5 separate regions of the Homo sapiens genome follow, and all the other regions are linked to region 1. The links are contacts of gene promoters, found by promoter capture Hi-C in human tissues and cell types (Jung and others, 2019). All regions are on one chromosome and are shown on one strand. The core of a region is centred on a gene start or on the middle of the fragment in contact, and the rest is flanking DNA. Distances in the headings are between cores, read along the strand shown.

Evidence for each region. The method cuts DNA at HindIII sites, captures the fragments that hold promoters and counts their contacts. A contact is called where the count stands out against the background at its distance.
Region 2: a contact is called between a fragment that was not itself captured here and the fragment with the promoter of DLX6 in region 1, in 1 of the 25 tissues and cell types used here (thymus).
Region 3: a fragment that was not itself captured here is called in contact with the fragment with the promoter of DLX6 in region 1 in 4 of the 25 tissues and cell types used here (aorta, mesenchymal stem cells, neural progenitor cells and 1 more).
Region 4: a contact is called between a fragment that was not itself captured here and the fragment with the promoter of DLX6 in region 1, in 1 of the 25 tissues and cell types used here (mesendoderm cells).
Region 5: a contact is called between a fragment that was not itself captured here and the fragment with the promoter of DLX6 in region 1, in 3 of the 25 tissues and cell types used here (adrenal gland, liver and neural progenitor cells).

What each region holds. Positions count from the first base shown.
Region 1 is chr7:97,003,729-97,007,155 of GRCh38, reverse strand. DLX6 (distal-less homeobox 6) reads right to left here and starts at 1,603. Exons shown (of 3, transcript NM_005222.4): 1 at 743-1,603. The coding sequence starts at 1,178. All of the region lies in intron 1 of DLX6-AS1 (DLX6 antisense RNA 1), which reads left to right. RefSeq lists a silencer at 753-852 and an enhancer at 2,165-2,886. The HindIII fragment of the contact is 17,411 bases long and covers 1-3,427 here.
Region 2 is chr7:96,498,344-96,501,770 of GRCh38, reverse strand. The region is part of intron 2 of LOC105375411 (a long non-coding RNA gene); the gene reads right to left. It also overlaps a transcript of SEM1 not described here. Among named protein-coding and RNA genes, the nearest start is that of SLC25A13, 180 kb to the right of the region's middle. The HindIII fragment of the contact is 4,858 bases long and covers 1-3,427 here.
Region 3 is chr7:96,564,751-96,568,177 of GRCh38, reverse strand. LOC107986825 (a long non-coding RNA gene) reads right to left here. Exons shown (of 3, transcript XR_001745289.2): 1 at 3,332-3,427. It also overlaps a transcript of SEM1 not described here. Among named protein-coding and RNA genes, the nearest start is that of SEM1, 140 kb to the left of the region's middle. The HindIII fragment of the contact is 5,791 bases long and covers 1-3,427 here.
Region 4 is chr7:96,590,307-96,593,733 of GRCh38, reverse strand. It overlaps a transcript of SEM1 not described here. Among named protein-coding and RNA genes, the nearest start is that of SEM1, 120 kb to the left of the region's middle. RefSeq lists enhancers at 1,472-1,971, 1,534-2,441. The HindIII fragment of the contact is 5,172 bases long and covers 1-3,427 here.
Region 5 is chr7:96,717,472-96,720,898 of GRCh38, reverse strand. No RefSeq gene overlaps it. Among named protein-coding and RNA genes, the nearest start is that of SEM1, 9.3 kb to the right of the region's middle. The HindIII fragment of the contact is 5,097 bases long and covers 1-3,427 here.

The DNA of each region.
Region 1 (3,427 bases), core at 354-2,853:
GGACCAAATCCTCAAACAAAACACAACCAACAGCTCAGACCAGCCCACGAGCAGGCTGCGCCTCTCACGGCAACTTTGTCCCCCTCGGGTGCTGAGAACCATCAGCCCGAGGTTCTTTGCTTCCCCTCCACGAACAAAGGAGCAGCCAACACTGTAGCGAAAAGCTAGATAGGGGGCCCGGTCAGGGATGAAGGTGAGGGACACTTTAAAGCCCACTGGAAAGAGCCTGACTGTTACTAGTTTAACCAGAGCGAAAGCCAGGCCAGCTTCCCTCCGAGTCACTGAGGAGCACGGGGCGCCCCACGCAAAGTAGGCCACTGCCTGCCCAGCGTGGGCTGGGAAGCAAAACACGCTCCCCAGTTCCGGCCCAGAAATGTCCCCAGCCGGGTCAAACGTGGGTTACAGCCTGGAGGGAAGGAGCAAGGAAAAGGGCGCACAGACCCAGGAGGCTGGAGAGCGCAGTGTGGACTAACTCGTCGAACGAAGCCTGCGCCGGGCCCGGGACTCAGCCCGAACTGCGCGTCGGAAGCTGAGGGTCCGCGGCGGCGGGAAGGGGCCCGGCTGGGAGAGGCCGGCAGGCAGGCGCCAGGCGAGCGGGCGCGCACGGGGCCCGGCCAAGGGCGCGCGGGGCCGCCTGGGGGAGGGGGCCGGCGGAGGCCCGGGCGTCGAGGAAGTGAGCGGGCGGGCGGGGTAGGGGGCAGTCGGGAGGCGGGAGAAGCGAGCTGCCCCAGCGGCCTCTCACCTGTGTCGTCCCCTCGCGTCTGGGCGGCTGCGCTGCTGTTGTGGTAGGACTGGAGGTAAGGGCTGTGCTGCGAGTGGCTCATGTAGGGGTAGGCGGCGAGCGAGCGGTGGTTGTAGGAGTTCCCTCCGCCCGACGCGTAGGGCGAGCCGTGGTGGTGGTGCTGGTGGTGGTGGTGGTGGTGCGAGCCGGCCGCTGCCGCCGCCGCCGCCGAGTGCAGGCAGTGCAGAGGGTAGTGCGCGCCTGCCATGGCCGGGGAGCTCTGCTGCGAGTGCGGCTGCGGCGGCGGCGGCGGCGGCGGCGGCGGCTGTTGCTGTTGCTGCTGCTGCTGCTGCTGCTGTTGCTGCTGCTGCTGCTGCTGCTGCCCGAACTCCATGAAGGCGGATTTGGACGAGTCCTGGCCTTCCAAGCCGTCAGCCATCGTAGTCATGGTCATCATCAAAAACTTTGGGGGCTGGAGAAAGCCTTCTCCCGGGTTTCCTCCACCCTCCCCCACTTGGCTCGCGCCGCTCTCCCCTCTGCAGCCACCTTAGCTCTTTGGATCCTTGCAAAAAAAAAAAAAAAAAAAAAAAAGAATTTAAAGAGGGGGGTGGAGGTGGTTCTCCCTCTCCCTCGCTCTTCTCTAATATATATATATATTTAATATAAAGAGATATAGTGAGCGGGGCCTTGTTAACTCAAAGGGAGGAGGAAGGAGGAGGGATGGGAGAGGAGAGGGGGAGGGGGGAATCTGCTCTCCCCCCGCCTGCTTTCCCCCCTTGGATTTTTTGGGGGCTGGTGCAGTTTAAGGCAGAGATTTTAAGGTGGATTCTGCGAAAGTTGCGCGTCTGCTTTCAGACTTGATGCAGACGCCACGAGTCGAATGGTTTGTCTCCAAAGGGCAGTGCCTCCCCATTGGTCAGTCGCCCCCTGACGTCACAGGCGCACGGCTTCTACTGGCGTGTGCGCGACTTGCAGAGTTCTTCGCCTACCTTCCGCAGTTCCAATCCCAGCCGGAGCTGCAGCCGGGGGCCGCGCTGTGTGGCGCCCGGGGCCGTTGGGGAGGGAGGCGCCTCTGCCCGGCCGGCCGCCGATGCTTCCCGCCGCAGCTCGTGCCCCAAATCCCGGAGCCCCAGTTGCCAATATCTCAGCCTTGAAACAGCCAACTGGGGGCTGCTCTCTTTCAATCCCTTTGCACCCTTGTAGGTTGCCTGTGCTTAGAAGCAGTGACCCCACCCCCGCATTAAATCCAGGCCCCCCTTTCTTGACGTCCCTGCCACTCTGGTCCTACTACACTCTTGTGGGAGCTCCTTGTCACCGTGGATTTTTCTAGACGTATTTTATTGAAACCACAGAAGGAAGACGAACCCTCACACCTGGGCTCCACCCCACTGGGGGGTGGTACAGAAAAAGAAAAATCAGACCCTGTTCTGGCTCGGTCCCTGCCGTTTCAGGCCGTATTTCTTATATATTGTACAAAAGGTTGTGGGGGGGGGGGGCGTCTTTTTTTTCTTTTCAGAACGCAGCAGCGTGTTCTGAAAACGAATCGTTGGAGGACTGACAGTAATGCATTTTTTCCTATTGAAAACAGAAGCTACTGTAATGCTTTCAAATATATGCAAATGATACATGCGGTTAGTGGTTTGGCAAATCTTGATTACAATATAAACTACCCAAGTAAAAGTGCCTTCGTCCTAAATTTGTCTCTCGATTACAATTCCAATTGATTTTATTTTATTGTCAACATTGTTAATGATAAAAATAGAGTCGTTTTACAGTTATTTTTACTTTCTGGAAGGAGGCAATTAGAGTTCTAATCAGGAATACACAAAAATCTCCCATGATTAACTGCAGTACTTTGTTCAAATTGCTGCTATAAAATTCAGAACAATTTGCCTGTAATGATTATGGACTGGGTTTATTTTGGGAGGTGGAATAAAAGTGGATATAGCATAAATTATCCTCTAATTATACACCAGTGTCGCCTCAATTATCCTCTTATCAAAATGGTTGTCTAACTGCCGCATTTAGTTTCAATTCTCTCCTTTTTTTCTATAAAAAGAACTTCATACCTTGTTATTATTAATCCATTTATTATTTGCAAGGGGATTTATATCCGCACATCCAGGTGGTAGAACCACTTCTCTTTCAAAGATGGACTGGGGAAAGACATTAAGTTCGGAGCAGCCCAAGGCTGCGGATCTAGCCTTTCTCCCTCCGGTCTCCAGACCCACGCAGGTTAAGGCAGCCAAGCAGAGACAGCGGAGCCCCGGTGCGTGGTTCAGGCCTGGTCAACAGGTAGGAGGGCCAGACTGGGGGCCAGGCACAGAGGAGGGCAGGCCCGCCCGCACCGGCGTCCAGGGTCCCGGGTTCCGGGTCCCGGGACTGGAGGAGGTCGCCGGCAGCCCGCCCTTCCAGAGGCTTGAGATTGGGTGGACGAGACCTGAAGATCCTCTCGGTCTGGACCCCGACTTTCGATCTGCTTAGAGACCTAAGCCGCGAGCCTTTGCCCACACGGAGAAACGTACTATCTAATATCTAACAACCCTGTACTGCAGTGTCTGGAGGTTGCGGGAAGGAGACAGTGTCTCCCTTTGGGAAAACTACTGAGGACTTCTGTATATCCTACTTCTTCTGGACTCCATAAGTTACAGGACCGAAGGAAACTGAGAAATAGAGAAAAGGTGCCGCTTGCCCCTTTAACTCCAG
Region 2 (3,427 bases), core at 293-2,792, 510 kb after region 1:
AGTACCACCTGAATCTAAAGTAAAAGTTGAAATTATTAAAAAATAATAATAATTCACATAAAGCACTTAGTATGTTTTGCACACATAATAATGATAATACTAACATGTTTACTGAGCTATTATGTACTTACTAAACATCCAATAAATTTTAGTTAACATAGTTCAGTGTGCTCAATGACAGGTTGAAGTCCACCACATTTGGATGGTTTTTAGTCTTTCCTAACATTAAGGCATGTACTTATCATCATTGAATTCAATAACTTTGTGGAACAATCTTCATTAGCCTCAAGTTAATGATTAATCAAAAAAGATTGGGTTTTTTTGTGTGTGTGTGAAAGGTCTATATACTACTAAGATGCCCTAAATCAGAGAGTTGAAGAAGGCTAGCCAATTATATGTTGCTCAGATCCACTCCCTGCTAAGTAGGAGTTAATATTACTAAAGGTCAGTGAGAAAACATTTTAAAACCTGCCTTGACCATTTATTTCCATATAGAGAAGTGGACTTAACATCAACTCTGGATGTCATCGTAGCTTTCAGACCTACTGAGACTTCTGTGGCAAGGCAGGATGGAGAAAAGAGTAAACCAGGACTAGAGGGGACAGATGAGCTCTACCCACTAACTGAGAATCTTGGCCATTACTTAGAACGTGCAGAGGGTTAACAGTGACCTTAGGTCTGATTCCAACTTGTCACGATATTGAAGAAGTCTGATCTCATGGCAGGAGCACCACAATAGTCTTTAGGCAGTAACATCTTGGTTCTTTGGGATTTCATAATAAGAGGCAGACTTTTTTCACAAAATCCAGTTGTAGCTAGGTATAAATCTGTGGCAAAAGGAGTAAGAACAAGATCCAGATTTTGAAGGAAAGTTGGTAAGAGCTAGAAAGGTTTTCAGGACCACAGCCAAATGTAGTCCAGGCCTGGCAGGGACCTGGAAGGAGTGAAATCCAGGAGCCAAGATGAAAATCTAACCTCCTCTCCAGGAACATGTGCTACAGGATACGAGAAGAAGCTGCAGCAAAGATAATCATGAAGTGCTTTTTGAGAATTAAGTAGAAACTAAAGCAGTATAAGGAAGCACAGATAAGTTAGAATAGCAGTGGTGAAGACCTCAAATCCCTTCATGCATTAAAGCTGAGATCTCTAAACTGGAATCCATTTACGGAGTTCAGAGGTCCCCCTGGAATATGCACAAAATATTCTTAGGTGGACACATATGTGCAGTTTTCTGGGAGGAAAGTTCATAGCTTTCATCTGATTCTCAAAGTAGTTTGTGATCCAAAAAATGTATGACGACTGGCCTGAGTGAAGTTCATATAGACTTGATTATTTGGTAGTTACATTCGTGAGACATATTTCCTTAACGTTTGAACTCATAAAAAAACACAGGTAGTAAGTAGTGAAATCACAGCATTTTCACAGGTTGCTGTTCTTCATATCCAAAGAGGACCCACTTGGCCCAGAGAGCCACCTGCCTTCGATGCGGCCACCAAGAAAGACTAAGGCCTGATCAGCAGGCCAGTGTCCCCTTTGCTGACACTGTATTCTCAAGACTGCCCTGGGTGTGTGGCTTCACCTCTCTCTTTTTAGTCCAGTGTTGTTTGTATCATGGAGACTAAAATGTATCTATGGAAAGGGTTCTTAAACTCCTATTTGCAAAGGGGTGCCAGACTGACAAGGTTTTTCATGGTTCATGTAAAAATGAGAAGAACAGGGAAAATTAAATGAATTTTCTTTCACAAAACTAAATCTATTCAATTTAAGTAACTATCCTTTATTCTGATAAGGTCAAAAAATTATACCCTTACTAATTATTTGATGTTAAACAAAATATGTGTTGATGGTGATATTTGATGGTGGTTTTGTTCTTTGATTTTTATTCTACTTGATCTATGTTGGTCTCCAATTTAAAACAAAACAAAAAACGTTTTTCTAGCCCATGAAATCAAAATTGTAGGAATTGTTTCCTGATATACTCAACAGCAATGCATCTAGCCTACAAGTGACTGCCACAATCCGATCAAATGTTTGTTTTTCCACTCTATGCCTAGTGACTACTCATGTGACTGATTTTCTGTGGTGGAGTTGGAACAAAAATAGGCACAACTGACTTGTTTATTTGTTAAGTACATGCCTGGCTTAGACAATGAGGATAGCATCAGGACTTAGTAGTTCCATCTTTAACTTAGAATGTGCACAGCATCACATTTAGTAAATGCTCGTTGAAATAAAATTGACTCGCTTTGTTCAAGACACATAAGGAACCCTCATGCAGTTCCCTCCTGCCCGCTGTGAGTCACATTCGGCCAACTGCCACCCGGCACAGGGCTACTCACTTTCTGTGAGTGAAAAGTAGCTCTTATAAAGGGATGGAGTATTACGGCAAGAATCTACTTATGAGAGTCTCAGTCTCAATTTTATTAATGACTTATTCTGTGACCTGAAATGGTCACTCAAGTGGACTTTCTATCCTACTTGCAGAGAATGAAAAAGTGGCAAATTACTGTTGTTGCCTAATAGTCTTAGTATAAGGACATTAGGCTGAATTAGTTATGTAGGCATTATTCAGGAACAGAAATTTCTTGACATAACTATGGACTTCAAAAATTGTGAAGCTGAAATATTTTAATCTCAGGATAAACCCATTATTTAAGTTAAGGTACTCTTGAGAACAAATATGATTACTTCATTGATGTATTCACACCAGAGTATTAAGACATTTTGGTTTTTGAAAAATCTATGTGCTTCATTCTTTATCAGTTGGATAGTGTCTATTATAGTTAAAGCTAGTCTATTAAATAATCTTTATATAAAATGATTTTATAGAAAACCTATTAAAATAAATGTCTTGTACAGAAAAGTTATAATGGGACAGAAACTATTATTAAACTCATTTTCAAGAATGATTCTCTACAAGAAATACTTTGTATGACCTTTGTGTAACCTTCTCAAGGTTACAGGGTTACTTGGACAAGTCAGGTAACATCTCCCTGCTCCTCGACGCTATAAATAAGAATAGAAGCTACCTCAAAGAATTAAATGTGGTAACACATGTATGTTAGAAGAGCAGGACACACAACAATCATTTGACAAACTTTAGCTAATATTATATTCTTCTTATTATTATTGGCACACTTGAAGTATCAGTTGCAGAATACGTTAACAGCAAGAAAAAAGCTCTGAACAATCTTATGGTGTATTGTTCTACCATTAAGTTGCAAGTTTCCCTCAATTCATCTCTGTCGTATCTTCCTGAGAAAACAGCAGAATAGAAATAAGTTCAATCATTCTCCATCTCAAACCTTATAAGACTCTCAGAAAAACCTATCTGATCTCTAGCAAATCTATACCAACATCATGCACACATGCGTGTGTGTGCACACTTACACAGACACACGTGCACATGCACACACACATACACAAA
Region 3 (3,427 bases), core at 651-3,150, 440 kb after region 1:
GGGCATTTCAGAGAAATTATAAAAGTTGTTCAAAAGTTGCAGGCATCAGGCCCAGATTATATTACACCTGAAGCCTACCCAAAATGTCAACGCAATGTTCAGAAAATTTCAATGCTATTGAAATGATTCTAGCAGAGATCGAAGAAAAACTTTTATTTTTTGTATGTACCCATCAAAATAATTATATCAAAACTTGACAGGATACTAAATGTGTGTGTGTGTGAGTGTGTGTGTGTATGTGTGTGCATGTGTGTGTGTATGTGTGTGTATCAGTCATTTTGTGAATATTGATCCAAAATAATATATTAGCCAACAGAATCCAACATTGCTTTAAAAGAATACATCATAACCAAGACAAAAAATTAAGATTATTAGAAAAATTACTAATATAATTTATGTTTCTATTATATCAGAAGAGAAAATTTATATTATTATGCTCAGAAAGGGTATGAAGGTATTTAAGTTCAAAATCCATTGTTGGTTTTAAAAGACTCTTGATAAAAAAATAATAAATAGATATTTTTAATATCCATCTAATTGACAGCCAAAACCTGCATTGTGCTGAGTGGTGAAACTACTCAAAATATTTTCAACAGGAGAAAGACAATGATGTCCACCATTACAATGATTACTTCTCATTGCTTTAGAGGTTATAAATGTGGAATTGGAAAGGAAAAAAAATACAAAGGTTTGAAGAGATGACACAGAATTATCATTATTTACATATATGATTAAATTTTACAGCTGGAAAACACCACAAACAATAAAATAACATTAATGCAAACAAACCAATTATTTTCCTATGTATAAGTGAAAGTTACATTAAAATATAAAGGGATAAAGGTAGTATTTGTCATAGGAACAAAATGATAAAATGTAATACGAGTAAATTTAAGAAATGTTCAAGACATATATAAAGGGACTTTAAAAGAATGAAGGATAAAACAAGAATTGAAGAAATATAATGATATACCTTTTATTGGATAAGAAGACTCAATATTTTGAAGGCAGCAAATCTCTCTGTATTTACCTATACATTAATTTTATTCCAATGAAATTACTTCACAGATAATTTTTAGAGTAGGGAGCAATTTAGAAACACATAAATTTCTGACGTGACATTAGTTCTACAAGGTACTAAATGCTATATTAATTAAAACACACTTTTACTGGCACATAGAAACAAAACACAATAGACCAAAGGAAGAGTTGAGATGTATACCAAAATCCTCATGGTAATGTGGCTTGTTATCAAAGAAGTATTTCAAAACCATGCCCAAACAAATTTACTTAATAACTAGTCATGAACAATTGCCTAGTCTTCTGGAAAAATAATGAATTAATTCTTACTTCAGATGGATTTATACCAAGATGAAATCAAATATCAGAGATTTAATCACTACAAAAGGAAATTCTAAAAGTACTGAAAGAAATTATGTGAGAATTTAAAAATTAATCTTGTAATGAGAGAAGCCTTTCTAAGCATGGCACAAAGCTTAGAAGCCATAAAAGGTGATAAATTTGCCTACATAAAAATTAAACATTGTCTGCATAGCAATAGAATACTATAAATTCAATGGCATTGACAAAGCAGGAAGAATATTTGTAATATGCTATATATAATAAAGGGCTATCTTTCTTATTATATGAAGAGTTCTTATGAATCAATTAGAAAAAATATTTTAAAACCAGTAAGGAAATGGGAGGATGACATGAGCAGGCAGTTTATAGAAAAATAAGTTCAAACAACTTATAATGAATTAAAGTTCAATTAAATGAAATGAAGATATTTTCAGCCTTGTCAACCATTAAATAAATGTTTATTAAAATAACATAATATGTAATTTAAACCTATCAGATTGACATACTAAAACATGCCTGTATGATTGTATTTGCACATTATCTCTCCAGGGTGAATAATCTCAGATGTTAACAGTATTTGCCTCTCTGTAAGGTAACCAGGGAACAAGGATGAGATGAGCATGTACTTTTTACGGCATATTATACTGTATGTTTAACTTTTTAAACTATGTGTGTATCACTTTTATAGAATAAAATAATATTTTAAAATATAAATTGAAGCCAGAAAAATTAAATAGATTAATTAATGTCACACAACAAACTGCAGATGTTTCATTAAAGCCTAGGACTGTATGATTTGGACTAAAGTGCTATATGATTTGGACAAAAGTGCTATATGATTTGGACAAAAAGTATATTGTTGACATTAATTTGCATTATTCTTTCTAAGCTTTTATCAGAGAATCCAACATGACAAGGATAATGTGTACATGAGCTATCTTGTGAAGAAGATCTGTGGGAACACTTGTTGAGAGGTTGATATTTTTATTCTCTGCACTGTTTTCTATTTTTGTATTTTACTAATAGAGATAGGAAGCAACTTGTGACACCTTTGTTTTTAACAAGCATCTCTGACAGAGCTAGGGTTTTAAAAAGTCTTCTTTTTAAAGCTTTTTAAAGCCTTTTTTCATCAGTAAAATTAGTGCTGTGTGTGTGAATAAGTGTGTGTAATCATTACTCAAGCTTCAGACTATTAAATTACAAAACCTGAATTGAGGGTAAGAGTATATTTTGTTCTATTTAGTTGCAGTGAACTAAGGGACTCAAGGAATTTATCTCTGGAACATAAAAAACACCTCTGTTGAAGCTGAACCAGAGAATTTACTTTTTTCTTCTTTTTCTTCTTCTTTTTTCAAATCACAGAATCCACTTACTAAAATTGTGCCTCACAGAGCATTGACCTTTAGACTATAATGGCTGCCTCCGGGCCATTACAACTTATAGTGCAATACCTTCTAATCTTCCAACCTACAAGTAAAGGTTATGAAGTTTTAGAGCACAAAGTACCTAACTCTTTGCTTGTAAATTCACTTTCTCCACCAAAATCCAAAACAATTAGCCTATTTGGGGGACTTTTAGTATATGGAATGACATTTTTTAAAAACCAAATTTATCTTTGAGTAGAAAAGGGGATTTTAAAAAGGTATAATATTCTAGGATAATGGTTTGACTAAAACCCTAAAGGCCACCAGATAAGACCTCCTGCTCTGATGAGGATTCCTGGATTGTTCTCTGAGTTTATAGGGAGAGGAATGGAGGACTAGGTTTTGTTTGGTGTAATCTATCTTTCTCTGTGAAAATGCACATCAAAATTTAAGTAAGTAGTGAGAATATCACTAATTTTTTTCTTCTGCTTATGTTTTCTAAAGTTTAAGTCAACAAACATATATTAATTACATTTAAAGTTTAAATGCAACTTTTTGTAAAATTTGGAAAATACAAACACAATAAGGATGAAAAATAGACTTACCATATAAGTTTTCTTGGTTTTCTATCAATATTTTCTGTATAACATATATAAGCGCCTAAGTACTTTAAAAACTCTCAATAGCAGAGCCATCAAAAG
Region 4 (3,427 bases), core at 659-3,158, 410 kb after region 1:
ATATTTCTAATGCAAATAAGGAAAATATCACTTTGATATTGGATTTCTTTAGTCTTTGCCAATAAAATAATTATCTGAAATTTAAATTTGTGTATGCAGTTTGATATTCATGTTAAAGCCCCATTTTCTGGAGGTCTTAATCTATTTCTAAGAAGAATTACTCTCCAGCATTTACTATAGCAAGAGGAGGGAGGTCAACTTCACATACGGCACACTGGGTTCTGCAAATTTCATCTGATTGGGGAACAGGCCAACATACCAAAAAATTAGTTCCAGGTGGCTGTAAGAGAAATGTTTTATGTTTAATTGAATTTTTCTAGGAGGTATGTATATGTAAAGTATTCTCTGGAAAAGGTTATATTTAGTCATTCACACTTACATGTATAGTCAAGAAAACATAGTACCCCCTAAGAAATGTAGGGTATGTGTAGATATTCTGCAGTGATTTGAGTTGCCATCAAGCAATATGTGTTGTTGTGAACGCAATATCAACCAGCACTTAGAATCTGGGAAGCTCAGAATGCACTCTTTTACATAACCTTACTGTATCTTTGGAAGAAAATGCAAAAGAAACATTGAGGAAACTTCTTAAAATGCACATTCCAAGGTCTCTCGCAGATATTCAGATTCAGTAAATCTATCATGTGGCCCAGGAATGGACAATTTGAATGGGGGCCCCTACTTGGAGAAATGACGTTTTAAGAAAGTGTGCCTTTTTTTTTTTTTTTTTTTTTAATATGGGAGAATTACAGCAGAGAGGAGGGAAGAGCCTTCTCTAGAGCTTCAAGGACGGTAATATGTGGAAAACAGACAAGAAGGGTTGCTTTTGGTCCTAAACTTTCTCCGTTCCTTCTTTACCAGCTAACAAACATGCCCCCTGAGTTGTATAATATGAACCCTTCGACCAAATTAATCGATGCCTCAAAACTGGTCCTCTGGCAGTTACCGAAATCATGCTGTGTGGAAAAACAATCCTTTTCTCCTCAGAGGAGCTTGAAACCCTGTTAAGAAAATGACTTAGGCCATACTTAAAAACCTGCCACCTTCAACCTTCTAAATCTCTGCTCCTACAGATTGCTGCCCCGAATACGTGTGCTTTGTCTCTGCTTGTGCTAATGGTTTTCTGTGTTCCGTTCTCCAACGGAAGACAGCACGTGACAGCCGGTGTCATGGTGCTGCTGAAAAATGCATTCTCCGTGCCCAGGAAGAACCTGTATAAATATTCTCAATAAATAAATAACAGTTGTCATTTTCAGAATATGACAATCTCCAGCTGCCTGTGCTTAAAGTGAGCGATGTGTCATTTAGCCTAATAGATGTGAATGCACGTATTGTACATACAAGTGACTCACCTAATTCTTATTCACTTCAGTCTTGGTCTCAGTTGGGGGCAAGTGCCTCTAACAGGGTTTGGCTGGATCAAATCACAAGCTGAAAAATCTTGGTCAATTATCGAAGCCCGAGGCTAAGGAGGGAGTTGTCTTTTCATACCTCCTCACAGACCCCTCCTCTTCCCGGGCTTACCTAAGACGCCAGTCAACCTCCCATTGACTGGCGTCTTAGGTAAGCCAGTCATCCCATCTGTGGAATTTCTGGGACTCTTTCTCCCCCCTGTAATTTAATGTGACTCAGTTGTTCTCTGTCCTGATAATACCAGTGGTGAGAAAGTCGCTTAATCCTACTGGCATCCCCTCTTGTCAGCACCTCTTTATTTCCCTCTTTAAAGGCTCAACATGTTTTGATTTACAATACTCACCAAGATAACTGCAGGTGCCCTCTCTAAAAAGCAAGGTTAACTCACCTGAGATGAATTCTTTTATTGTAAACAAAAGCAACACATGAGCAGGAAATACAATTAATACAGGTGCTTCTCTGAAATTTAGCAAATGTCTGTTGTTTTGAAAGGAAAAAAAAAAAAAACTCCATTGCCTGGAGGTTTGTGTCATGCCATTTCAGTGAAGAAGGGATTTGAATTAGAATACATTTGAAGGAAAAAGGAATAGCCCTCTATGTTCAGGAAAGGCCCCAACAAAGACCCCATGTAAGGAACTATAAATTGTTTAAGGACTCAGGTTATTCAGGGGTAAGCAAAGTGTTGACCCAAACTGATGCTAATGTCTGAATTTCTGGGTAGAAGCCATCTGATGAAATCATCAGTTTTATATGGAGTGCATGTGTAGAGCTAGCTATATTGTTGCTAAGTAACTTTTTAAAGTACTCCAGTTAAGGCAACCTTTGTAGAACCTGTCATTTGACTCTCCTTGGAAATATATAATGAATATATTAATTCAAGGGAAGTGTTTTTAACTCTGTTAGAGGGAGGCAGATGTGCTAACTTTCTCTTCAGTTTGCTTGAGGTTCAGAGTTCGCCATTCTGGTGGTTGACAGTTCGTTGTTTTAAAACCTCAGAAGTTAACCGAAAGTCTTTTATTATGAAGAGTAGGTAAATCTTTTCAGGTGTTGCTGAAGAGATTTGCTGTTCGTGTAAAGAAATGATCAAAAAAGGAAATCAAACAAAATAAATACTGCAGTCCTACCAAACAGCTTAATTTTGTGAATCTTGTGTAGTTAGAGAAAATTAAGATTAAAAGCCATGAAAAACAAAAGGGGGAAATTGTAGACTTAACAGGAACACCTGACAAGCCATTACAATTAAATTGCCAAGTATATTACATCTATTTTTAAAAATCTTGATCACTTCTCTAAACAAGTAATGTTTCTTCTGCCTTTTAAATCTTGGTCCTGGTATTCGTTTACTTTAGATAGTTTCATCAAGAAAAGTGTTACTTTTCACCACTGGCTTGGGGTCCTTTTTCATATGCATTCACCTAGGGAACCACATTCCTATGTTTGTAACCCCGACCCTCCCTCTGACAATCTTCTTCCTCCACAGAGCACACACATAAAATTATGTTTCTACAAATGATTTTGGCATAGCCACACTTCCTCAATGGCGAATCTACCTGCTCTTGGAATGACAAGATGACAAGACTGCATGCTCAATTACACCTGCTCCTCTTTTTAAGTAATTGCCTTAGATCTTGCCAAATTATGTTGCTAGTTTTCTCAGGCACTCTAATTTAAATTAGAATGAAGCTGCTAAACTTTTATCAATTACTACATCCTAAGCAATGTCTTTGTTTTCAAGAATTCTATCTTTCATGACCCAATTACAAATGGCTAAAGAATCCTGCAGTTTCAGACCCCAGTATATATAATCATTACGTTTCCTTAAGCATAGTCTGTATATATAACTGGTTTTTCTGTATCTGTACTTTTATATAACAAAAAAGAGTGCTTGTTCGTGGAGTTTCCTGTGACTTGTAGAAATAAAAATGGCAAAGGAGTTAAGTTGCCAGATCTAGCAAATAAAAATACAACATGCCTAGCTGAATCTGAATTTCTAATAAAAATGAACTATTTGTTA
Region 5 (3,427 bases), core at 489-2,988, 290 kb after region 1:
GTATACTAGAAATTAGAGCTGAAAAACACCTCATGGTTGATCCAGACCATCCCCCTGCCATTAAGTCTTCTTGCTCACCACAATACACTGTCCATGGCTTTGTTCAATGAAGTTTTAAATGTCCTTAGAGATTCTTTTGGGCACCCACTCAACTAACCTAATACTCCTGAAAATTAACAAGAATCCCCAATGTTTTGTCTAAACTTTCCCTTTCTTATTTTCATTTTATTTCTCCTATTTACAGTCCAAGGTGAACCCTTTTTCTTTTGGAATTTTATACCTTTCAGAGAGTTGTGGACTTACATTTCTGCTCTATTAGTTCTTTAACCAAACTATGTGTTCCTACCTTAATCTTTCTTCATTCTCTTTGTTTAATTTTGGTTTTGGTTATTGAATTCCTTCCAACTCATCACCTTGGTTTGCAGTATGTATAGTTTCACTGTTCACCCATTGAACGACTATCACAATGCTTTTCCATCAGAAACCTTAAGACAAAGCACTGACATCTGCCATATATAATTACAAATATATCCAATTTGATGCCATAATCAACCTAGGGTGTTTTCATTTTACTCATCAGAATATTAAATAAGTTCTGTGCAATGCTGTTTACTTAACTTGATTTTAAATTCTGATGTTAATTGTGTAATATCAGACATCTCACTTAAGCCCTTTGTACTTTTGTTTTTATATCTGCAAAAGGAGAGCACAACATCAGCTTCAGCCTCCTTTGCTGTAATCTTATGAATATAAATATGCTATTCTAGGGCTAGAAAGAGATTTTTCAGAGAGAAAAACACCTCACTTCCCAGCTTTCAGACAGAATCACACAGGATAAATTATTCTCAATATATGAAGTTCAAATGACACTCTTTTCTGCTTACAGTAATTTATGCTAAATCAATCCATCTCCATTTGTAGTAAAGGGCAAATTTTTAAAATTCAAAAATGCCATGGGCTGATTTTTATAAAATACGAAATCACAGGGTTGGATGAAGTGGCAGTGTCAAACTGCTCTAAGAGTTTCTACATGTTTATGCTCACTTTCTATAGTTGTCTTTTATAGGCGCTGGTCCAGGGACCCCACTTTGAGTAGCTCTGTGCTAGACAATTATATGCCTCACCTTCAGATTCAGATATAGGCTCAGAGGCCTGACAGATACTTTTCAAGATAACTCTTTCTCTTCTAATGATTAACATTAGACTTGATTTTACTTTTCAATTTTTGTACTTCAATTCAAAATCAACTTTAAAAAAATAGAATAGCAAATCAATTAATCATTCCTCTCAAAACATTTGATTACATATTTCTCATTTATTTATCGTCACCTTTTTTCAAAGTGTGGCAATCCTTAATTCATATCATAAAATCAAATCTGAATGAAAAATACTTTTAAGAAAGAAGAAAAAATTAATTCCATGGAGCTTACACCAGACCCCTGAGTTACAGAATGATCCCTTAGTCACAGCGATGCTAGCAGCTCCACTTCTCAAACTGACACTAGTCTCTGGCAGCCTACCGTCAGGGATAGGCTGACAGCAAGCAAACACATTCCAATCAAAAGGAAGGCAAAATCACCCAGTGCTAATTCTACCCCACCTGGCAGTCTGCCACCAACCTTTACTCTTCGGATTTAAGACATAGATCGTATATCAGAAATAACTGGAGTAGCTATTACATAAGTTGGTTATGGGATGCATATGCTTTCAGCTAGCATCTTTTATAGTTTGGGTACAAGAAAAATTTTGAGTTTTAGCACTCTTTTCTGGAATAGGCTTCTCTTATTTTTAGTGGGTTTTAATTATGTTGAGAAGGAATTAAATAATGATATATTGAAATTTCATTTTTCCAGGGAATTAAAAAAAAATAAAATTAATTGGAAAACATGAAATGTGAGGAAATATTAAATACAGTTTTAAACTGAACAAACGTAATCCATAAGTTACACATTGGGCTTTTTATGATCTAAAAATTTCTTCCAAGAAAAAGAAAAATTGAAATTCAAAGACTTATGAGCTTGTTTCAAAAAATAGTAAAAATAAGTTCCAACTGGTATAAGAACATGGATAAAGTACCAACTCATGGTCAAGGTACAACATGATACCAGGGCAAATAATAGCACAGGATGAGTGAGGTATTAGCAGAGAAGAAACTTTAAATGCAGAACATTTTATACTACTTTAAGGGATTTTATACAACTAAGAAAACATATATATATATATACACACACACACATATGTATAAATAGCAGAGAAAGTGTATTAAAACAATATATTTCTGATGAAGTTCTTCTTTACACAATTTTCTAAGAGCAAGCACATGGCCAATGTGGATTAATCATTAATGAATTTAATAAAGTGAACAGATTATTAGCTCCTAAAGCTAGTTATTTTGTTTTTCAAATGTTTCAAATGTGCCAGATGTTTCATAAAAATAGTTTTTATTATTTAAAATGATTTATGAGGCTAGAATGCCCAACTTCTATTTCTGTGTTAAAATCTAAATGTTAAAAACCGTTAACAGACAAACAGAATTTACAGTTCAGTTAGCAGTCACTGAATGTGAAAAGAGTTCTTAAAATGCTCCTCTTCAGAGCCATTCTCGTTCCCATAGAAACCAATGTGAGATCCTGGAAAACAAGGTAAGTTCTAAAATAATCACCATTATAAATACCCATTATATAAATGTAAATACAGGCAATTGAAATGATTTAGATGATTTTGAAATTGCATATCATTTCCCAAACCATAATGATTCCTTCAGAGTGGTTCCTGTCTGTCATATAAATACAGCATTTACAAAATTTTAAAAATTCTTATGATTTACCTGTGAGACCATAATCGCCTTTTCAAACAAGTCTTGGGCATGCAAATACCGATTTTTGAACAGGTAGTTTGGTCCAAAATAGGGTCTTTTTGGGCTGGGCTCTTATGTTGTGGTAGATTAAGTACTTCTCATTATTAGCATTTACATTTTCAATAACTGTATCTTTATTCATTAGTAATTGTTCTACAATGAGATCTAAATATTTCAGGGAGCTTACAATGATAATTTTTCATATTTTCATTTGTCCAGGCATTTTGTTATGACAAAAGAGCCAAAAAAGCTCCGTCTATTTGGGATTGTAATTCTTCCCAATGTCCAGAATCAATCACTGGGTACAAAGTACTCATAATACTAATAAAGATGTGAGTGTGAGTTGTTCCCAGGTATATATACACCTTCCAAGAAGAGCTAAGCTCCTCCCCCATAAACCAAGCCATTAAACATATCACACACAAAAATCAACTCAAAGTGGATTAAAGGCTTAAATATAAGACCGGACACTGTAAAACTCCTAAAAGAAAACAGGAGGAAAGCTTCCTCATATTGGTCTAAAAACTATTTTTTGAATATCCCAAAAGTAAAAATAGACAAGTGGGACTA